3 separate regions of the Homo sapiens genome follow, and all the other regions are linked to region 2. The links are contacts of gene promoters, found by promoter capture Hi-C in human tissues and cell types (Jung and others, 2019). All regions are on one chromosome and are shown on one strand. Each heading gives the region's core, a stretch centred on a gene start or on the middle of the fragment in contact. The rest is flanking DNA. Distances are from core to core; before and after follow the strand shown. Region 1 has its middle 3.7 kb from the start of FRYL. Region 2 holds the start of ZAR1 (zygote arrest 1). Region 3 overlaps OCIAD1 (OCIA domain containing 1).

Evidence for each region. The method cuts DNA at HindIII sites, captures the fragments that hold promoters and counts their contacts. A contact is called where the count stands out against the background at its distance.
Region 1: a fragment that was not itself captured here is called in contact with the fragment with the promoter of ZAR1 in region 2 in 1 of the 25 tissues and cell types used here (dorsolateral prefrontal cortex).
Region 3: a fragment that was not itself captured here is called in contact with the fragment with the promoter of ZAR1 in region 2 in 1 of the 25 tissues and cell types used here (stomach).

Annotation. Positions count from the first base shown.
Region 1 is chr4:48,782,505-48,785,456 of GRCh38, reverse strand. No RefSeq gene overlaps it. Among named protein-coding and RNA genes, the nearest start is that of FRYL, 3.7 kb to the right of the region's middle. The HindIII fragment of the contact is 3,640 bases long and covers 1-2,952 here.
Region 2 is chr4:48,488,969-48,491,668 of GRCh38, reverse strand. ZAR1 (zygote arrest 1) reads right to left here and starts at 1,417. Exons shown (of 4, transcript NM_175619.3): 1 at 415-1,417. The coding sequence starts at 1,377. It overlaps SLC10A4 (solute carrier family 10 member 4), which reads right to left. Exons shown (of 3, transcript NM_152679.4): 3 at 2,143-2,700. RefSeq lists silencers at 1,141-1,220, 1,271-1,520 and an enhancer at 1,746-2,283. The HindIII fragment of the contact is 11,917 bases long and covers 1-2,700 here.
Region 3 is chr4:48,844,455-48,847,154 of GRCh38, reverse strand. All of the region lies in intron 4 of OCIAD1 (OCIA domain containing 1), which reads right to left. Among named protein-coding and RNA genes, the nearest start is that of OCIAD1-AS1, 14 kb to the left of the region's middle. The HindIII fragment of the contact is 4,889 bases long and covers 1-2,700 here.

The sequences.
Region 1 (2,952 bases), core at 266-2,765, 290 kb before region 2:
GTAACTGGGACTACAGTCATGCACCACCACACCAAGCTAATTTTTTGATTATTGTTTTTTTGCAGAGATAGGGTCTTGCTATTTTGCCCAGGCTGATCTTGAACTCCTGGCTAAAGTGATCTGCCTGTCCTTGGCCTTCCAAAGTGTTGGGATTACAAGCATGAGCCCCCACACCTGGTCTGGCTTTAAAATATTCTTATTTTATGAAATAATGAGAATAGATAGAAGTTTTATTTATATTTATTTTTGTACCTTACACGGAAAAATTAAAAAGTTGATAAGCTTATGTCAGTTCCTAAAAATTCCTTGGAAATTTTACCAGTTCATGAAATAAAAAAGTCTGAGAACCAGTGATCTTTTACTAATTGATAAGATAGATTTGCAATAAAATATCAAGTAATTAGAATGCTCCTAGAATGGTCTTGTGGTTAATTAGATTTTCACATTGTAGGTTAACTTTTTGGTTTCAGCTGTGCTCATTCAGCTCAATTTGACATGCTGTACTGAAAGCCTCACTTATGCCAGTCATCATACTAAATGATGCCCATGCGATGATACATAATCCTGGCTTTGCTCTGTGAGAACAAACCAGACTAGTACAAGAGACAGGAAAAGAAACATTTAAGTTCTGTATTCAAAGTGATACCTATAACAAAATAGTATATATGTAGTAGAAAAGTAGCACAAAGAATAATTAAGTCAAGGAAGGGAGTGCAACTAGAGAAGACTGCATAAAGAGGGCAATGCTTCTATTGGGCCATCAGTTTGATGGATGGATTGAAGTGTCCTTCAGATGAGCAAAGAGGGGAAAGCTATTCTACACAAAGGGAATGGCATTGAAGCTTGAAAGAACATGATAGTTGATATTGAGAGAGCAGACACTTCCAGTGTCAAACGAGGGAGTGGTCAGGGAAGAAATTTGAGAAGAAGCCTATAGTCAGATTATAAAGAGACTTGTACGTTTTGCTGCGGTGTTTATATTCAGAATGTGCCTAGAGAAATCTCTAAAGGGTTTTAAGCAAGAGATAATTGGAAAGCTTTCTAAAAATGTATTAATATCCACATTCTACCCAGTAGGTGAAATATACTGAACACAATTGAATTTTTTACTGATAATTGCAGACCTTTCAGTGACATACTCAATGAATATCAGTTCTTATTTTACAAAGCAACACATTTAACTTTAGAGAGTGAAGGACTTGGACCTCCTCTGGGAGACCTAGGAGACTGTGGAACTATTTCCTGGAATTTTTTCATTAAATCAAACTACTGTGACTTATTTTCTTTTAACTTATTCTCATCAATATTAATGGGACAGGGGAAATGATTTTGGTTGACAGCTTCCATTAGTTGGATTTTTTTTTTGAAAAAAAAAAAAAAAAAAGACAGGATCTTGCTATGTTGCCCAGGCTGGCCTTGAACTTCTGGGCTCAAAGCAATCTTCCCATCTCAGCCTCCCCACTAGCTGAGATTACAGGTGTGCACCATCACACCATGCTCTGGATTTTTAAAAATTTTACTATAGAAAAATCTCTGGTGAATACATAGTCTCCACGCAAGAGCTTTGAAGGAAATAAAGGGTAAAAACTGTGCCCCTTATAGGTGGAGATTCATGACATACTCTCTGGAGAATGGATACATATTCATCATTTTCTCCCTATTCTTTTTTTTTTTTAGACGGAGTTTCACTCTTGTTGCATAGGCTGGAGTGCAATGGCAACATCTCAGCTCACCGCACCTCCGCCTTCCAGGTTCAAGCGATTCTCCTGCCTCAGCCTCCTGAGTAGCTGGGATTACAGGCACGCGCCACCCCGCCCAGCTAATTTTGTATTTTTAGTAGAGACGGGGTTTCACCATGTTGGTCAGCCTGGTCTCGAACTCCTGAGCTCAAGTGATTTACCTGCCTCGGCCTCCCAGTGCTGGGAATACAGGTGTGAGCCACTGCACTTGGCCCCCATTTTCTCACTATTCTTAACACATAATAGTCGCTATATAAGTGTGTGGTGAACTGGAAAGAATTTCCAATAGGAATGGTAACATAATTTTTCAGAGGAAAAATAATTACTGGTTAAACTATGGAACCTCTTTGAGGGGTACATTTGCATATAAACAGGGAGAATAGTGATCATAACATATTTCACTTTTTTTGTATTTTTTATTTTTGACACGGAGTCTTGCTATGTCATCCAGGCTGGAGTGCAGTGGTGCGATCTCAGCTCACTGCAACCTCCGCCTCCCGAGTTCAAGCCATTCTCCTGCCTCAGCCTCCCGAGTAGCTGGAATTACAGGCATGCGCCACCACGCCCGGCTAATTTTTGTATTTTTAGTAAAGACGAGGTTTCACCATGTTGGCCAGGCTGGTCTTGAACTCCTGACCTGAGGTGATCTGCCTGCCTCGGCCTCACAAAGTGCTGAGATTACTGGCACGGTGTGAGCCATGGTGCCTGGAGGTATTTCACCATTTAAAAGACTTTAACAAACATCTATATACAATAATTTAAAAAGCTTTATTTACATTAGCACATTGGAGAAGGGTGTGTGTGTGTGTGTGTGTGTGTGTGTGTGTGTGTGTGACAGAGTGAGACTCTGTCGCCCAGGCTGGAGTACAGTGGTGCAATCTTGGCTCACTGCAACCTTCGCCTTTCGGGTTCAAGTGATTCTCCTGCCTCAGCCTCCCCAGTAGCTGGGATCACAGGCCTGTGACCATTCCCACCAGCTAATTTTTGTATTTTTTGCAGAGATGGGGTTTCGCCATGTTGCCCAGGCTGGTCTTGAACTCCTGGCCTCAAGTCATCCACCTGCCTTGGCCTCCCAAAGTGCTGGGATTACAGGCGTGAGCCACTGCACCCAGCCGAGAAATATTCTTTTTTTAAAGAGTGGGGATTGGGCTTAGAATGAGAAACTAAGGTAGAGAGATAAAGTCTCTCTGAATGAGAAAGTACAACTTGTAAA
Region 2 (2,700 bases), core at 168-2,667:
CCAGTGCGGAAATGGGAGAGAGGGATCCTTGGGAATCGACTCTCCAGCCGGCAAGTGCTCCGAAGTTCAGTTGTGCCTACTGATAGGTAATCCAACCGTGCGGTCAGGGCTGGCCTATGCGCCCACTGCGCGAGGTTTACAGTGCAAATATGTGGGTTATAAGAACGTCCCAAGGGCGTCGCCCTGGCCAGCCCGTGGAGCAGCCGCCACGAGTAAGTCTGGATGTCGGGGACATGAGACTGTGCTGTCAAGGAAGACACCTATCGCGGTCATTGGCTGTCTCGGAAATACGGAAGTAGCCCACGCTTAGGGAAGCGCCGCACCTCCGAGTGCCCGAAGCAGTCACAGGGCCAGGCCCAAGGAAGACACCCGCACCCCCGGGCTCCCCTGTGCCCTGACCGCCCTAGGCTTTACCTGGAAGCGCAGCCGCTCCTTGCCCAGCTCCGGGCTCCGTGGCGACGGCCCCTCTCCCGCGACGGCCGCCTCCCGTCCGTCGCCGCCGTCTCGGGCCCTCCCCGCCGACGGAGGTTGCCCCGGGCTCCTTAGCGCCGACCGCGGAGCCGCCTCGCCCTCCTGGGCCTCTCGCGGCGGCAGCTCGGGACCGTCGGCCGGCTGCTCCCAGCTCGCTCGGACTGCGGCCTGGGCCTCGCCGTCGTCGTCGGACTGCGGCCGCCGGGGCGCCTTCTTCGTCCACACCTCCCCCTCCTCTGGGCCTTGAAGCCGCGCGGGCGGCGGCCCCCTCTCTCCGTCCGACGCCCCGGACCTCTGCTCGCCCGCCGCGGGCCCGGGCCCCTCCAGGAAGGCGGTGAGACGGCGCAAGGCCAGGGGCGAGTACACGGCGACGGTGCGCGGGAAGCGCATGGGCCGCGGGGCGCCGTTCTGGGGGCTGCCCTGCTCCAGGCCTCGACGGGATGGCTGCTGGGAGAAAGAGCCGCCACCCGTGGTGCCCTCGGCCCCGGGGCCGGCCGGGGACTCGGGGTCGCGGGCCCGGCGCTGCAGCGTGCGCCTCCCCAGCGAGCACTGTACCGCGGCGTCGATGCGCGGGCTCACCTGCACCGCCACGTCGCAGCTGCCGGCCCTGCGGGCGCGCGGCCCGAGACCCGGCCCCACCTGCGCCAGGAGAGCCATGAGCCGCTCCCGCTGGTAGCTGTCGAAGTACTCGGCGGCCGTCAGCCGCCCGCAGCCCGGGAAGGACAACGAGGCCGCGCCCGCCGAGCAGGGGGAGGAGGCGGGAAGGCAGCCCCTGCCGCGCTGCTGCCAGCTGCCGCCCGCCGCGCCCTTGCCCTTGGTGGCCGCGGGGTATGGGTACCGGTACGAGCAGGGGGGGCACGCCGGGAACACGTAACCGTCCAGCACCTCGTCCCCCAGGGCCGCCATGGGCGCACTGCTCCCGCCCGCCGCCGCACCCTAAATAGGCGACTTGCCCGGGCGGCCGAGCGGAGGCGGGGATGGCCCTCGGCGGGGGCTCGCACGCTGCACCGCCCTCCACGCCCTTCCTGCCACCGGCCCGCGTCCCCGCCGAGGGGGCCCCTCTTCGTCCTTCTCCCTACAGAAACTCTCCACGCCCGGATGTTGGCACAATGACCCTTAGATGATCTGGAAAGAGGGCTTTCTTTGTGATGAAAGGGCTGATCCGTAAGGGAACCAAGGCGCCCGAGGTGAGGAGGATTTCAATGAGAGAAACTCATCACCGGCATCAGCTGAGCCGGCTTCTCCCGGTGCCCTGATTGTTCCAGGTGCCTGCGCATCCCCCCCACCCCCGCTCCCTCACCGGGAAGCCGAGGCCAGGCCGGGTGCCTCTGGCTAAGTGAGCGAAAGTGCCAAGGTTTGGGAACTGTTCTGGGTCTATTACCCGTTAACTCAGATGATAAGTTTATTCTCAGAGCTGCTCTAAGAGGCTACCCACTGAGCCCCCTCGGCGAGTGCATGGAGAACCACCCAGGGATCTTCATCTAGGCGAATTGTTTTCTCCCCTGGAGCGTGTCCCTTCCCCCAGTCCCAGTGGTGACCGGGAGGTACCGTTTTGTTCTGCTCCAGAGCGGTTCTGAAAAATTTCCCAACCAAATCATTCCTACAAAAGATAAATTGATTTGGGGTGTGTTTACATAAATGCAGAAGACCAGTCGAAAAGAACATGGCTTGTCCACTAGAAAAATGTTGATTATTCATTAATAAGTAGATACCAGATCAAGTAATCAAATACATTAATGTAACTTTTCTCTGATACTGGTTTGACAAATACTATATTTCCTTATTTAACTGACCTGTTTTGGAATTCTTCTGAATACAGGTCAAAATTCAACATTGTGAGGAATTTTAAGTAGAGCAAGCACACTTTTTTTTTTACAACAATTACATTAAACTCAATTATGCTTTACAAAGATAGCTTGTTTTTCCTCATAGTGCGCCAAAATTCTACATTTCCAAGACCCTGTTTTCTAATAGATTCTGTATTTGCAACAGTCATAGAAATTGGTGATGGTAAAAACTAAAAACCACATTTAATTCAGGCTTCACGTTAGCCATTCCAGGTGCAAATTATATTACAGCATTGATTTGTAATTTGTGACAACGTTTGGTTAATACACCAGTGAACCTTAAAAAGATCAGAATTGTTACATGTATGATGTGAACCAGTGTTATCTTTTATGTTAACCATGTGCACTACCACAGGCTATAAATATGAAGCAATATTTCAGC
Region 3 (2,700 bases), core at 15-2,514, 360 kb before region 2:
ATATTAGTGTTTATTTACCACAATGGCTAAAACATAAAAGACATAAAAATAGCTAGTGTTGGTGAGAATGTAGGAGTATACATTGGTCTAAATAGTTTGGTAATATCTACTAAAGCTAAATAAATATATACAAAATCTATGACCCAGCAAAATGTCTATCAAAAAGGCACCATATTCTTGGCAAAACTAATTGTAACAGTGAAAATTGAAAACTACCAATTATCAATGCACAGTTCAGATAGATAAACTGGTGTATTCACACAGAGGAAAACTATAGGGCAACTACATGCAACAATGTGGTTAAGTGCAATGATGTGCTGGTAAACCAGCACTCCCTATAAAAAGCTCTAATTTTAATGTTTGTCAGTTTCCATGGTGTAAAGCTACCAATTCTTTTTTTTTTTTTTTTGAGACGAGTCTCGCTCTGTCCCCAGGCTGGAGTGCAGTGGCGCCATCTCAGCTCACTGCAACCTTCGCCTCCTGGGTTCAAGCAATTCTCCTGCCTCAGCCTCCCAAGTAGCTGGGACTACAGGTGCACACCACCATGCCCAGTTAATTTTTTGTATTTTTAGTAGAGACAGGGTTTCACCATATTGGCCAGGATGGTCTCAATCACCTGACCTCATGATCCGCCTGCCTCAGCCTCCCAAAGTGCTGGGATTACCGGCATGAGCCACCGTACCCGGCCAACTACCAACACTTTAAAAACCAGCTTGCCAAAGTTCCCGAAAATTTAACAACCAATTCTCAGGAGCCAGTACAAACCAGTTCCAGCATGCTACTGGATGAATCTCACCATGTTGAAAGAACTTACATAAAAGAATATTTCAGTGTATGATTTCATGTAATTAAAGTACAAAAACAGACAACTAATCTGTGCCTTTAGCCTCAGTTCCTTCATTTATAAGAACTGGGATGACAATAGAAAAAGGAAGATGGTAAGAACATCTCTATTTTTACATTAAAAAGTTGTTCCTTCATACTGTCACCAACTAGTTATAGACCACTTACAACATAAAGGTACTACATACTGGATATTAACAGGAAACAGGACACACTCTTTACTCTCATGGAATTTACAGTCTAGAGAGAGAGTTAAGACAAAGATAATAGTGTCATGGTTGCTATTCATCCCCTCAAATATTTGAGTACTATGTGCACTATGTATGTCCTCTGTCAGGTGCTAGAAATAGCTTATTTTCCTAAGGAGAAGTAGCAAGAATGGAAACAAACAGATTTGTTGAAGGTTAACGCAATACTCTTTGTGACATATGGTTGCATTAATTATGCTGGCAGTACAGATGGAGGTAGATAGTTAATAAAGACATTTAAGAGCTAAAAGACATTAATTGGACAAGGCAGATAAGGGATAGATGTGAAGGATAATGTCCCAGTTTCCTGGATAGTACTAACACCACTCAGTCATGAAGGGAAAGGAGGAATTGGTTTTGTGGAAAATGGTTGAGTTCTGTTTGAGGAGCCTATAGAAGGGCCATACATATTATATATTATATCCAAAATATAGTAACACCAACATTTCCCAAACAACTAGACAAAAAAACCCATACAAGAATGTAAGCACCAAGAGTTAATGAATTTTTGTTGTTTAGTGCTATATAACAATGTATAGTACATATCAGACACTCAAAAAACATGAAACAGAGGAATCGCCTGAGGTAGGAGAAAAATCTTAGGAATATGCCATCATGGAAGCCAAGAGAATAGACTATTTCAAGAAAAACTGGTTAAAGTTATGTAACGTTGGTCAAGAACAAAAACTGTCCATTATATTTAAGCAACAAACAGGTTGTTTTTGAAAAGTTTGTTTTTGAACTTTTGAAAAGTTCCAATAAATGGTAGAACATATGGATAGTCTCACACTGACTGCAATGGGTTAAACGAAGTAAAAAGTGAAGGGCTCATTCATGAAGTCTGCCTCTGGCTTCAAATATGAGGCAGTTGGGAGTAGCTGGAAAAACAAATGAGGGAGGATTTTTTTTTCTTTTTAATGTTCTCAAGTTAGAGGAGACCTGAGCATGTTTAAATGGTTTTGGCAGATCAGGAAGAAACAGAAGGAACATCTAAGACCACGTGGAGTATGACACACTGTGGATGAAAGGGGATACAGGCAGCCCTCCATATGTACATGTTCTGCAACCAACTGCGGATAGAAAATATTTAGGAAAAAAAAAACTGCATCTATACTAAACATGTACAGACTTGTTTCTTGTCATTATTCCCTAAACAATACAGTATAACAACTATTTACATAGTGTTTACATAGTCTTAGGTATTATAAGTAATCTAGAGATGATTTACAGTATACAGGCAGATATGCACGTAAACTTTACTAGGCCGTTTTATATCAGAGACTTAAGCTTTTGTGGATTTTGGTATCCTCTGGAGGGTCCTGGAACCAATCCACACAGACACAAAAGGACCACTGTACAAAATGTCAGGGATTTTGATTAAATGCAAAATGTCTTGGTGGATTCCAAATTCTTTTCTTAAAGTCTCTCTCAATTTTTACCTTTTTTTTGAGACAGAGTCTCGCTCTGTTGCCCAGGCTAGAGTGCAGTGGCGCCATCTCAGCTCACTGCAGCCTCCGCCACCTGGGTTCAAGCGATTCTCCTGCCTCAGTCTCCTGAGTAGCTGGGACTACAGGCACGCACGACCACGCCCGGCTAATTTTTTTGTATT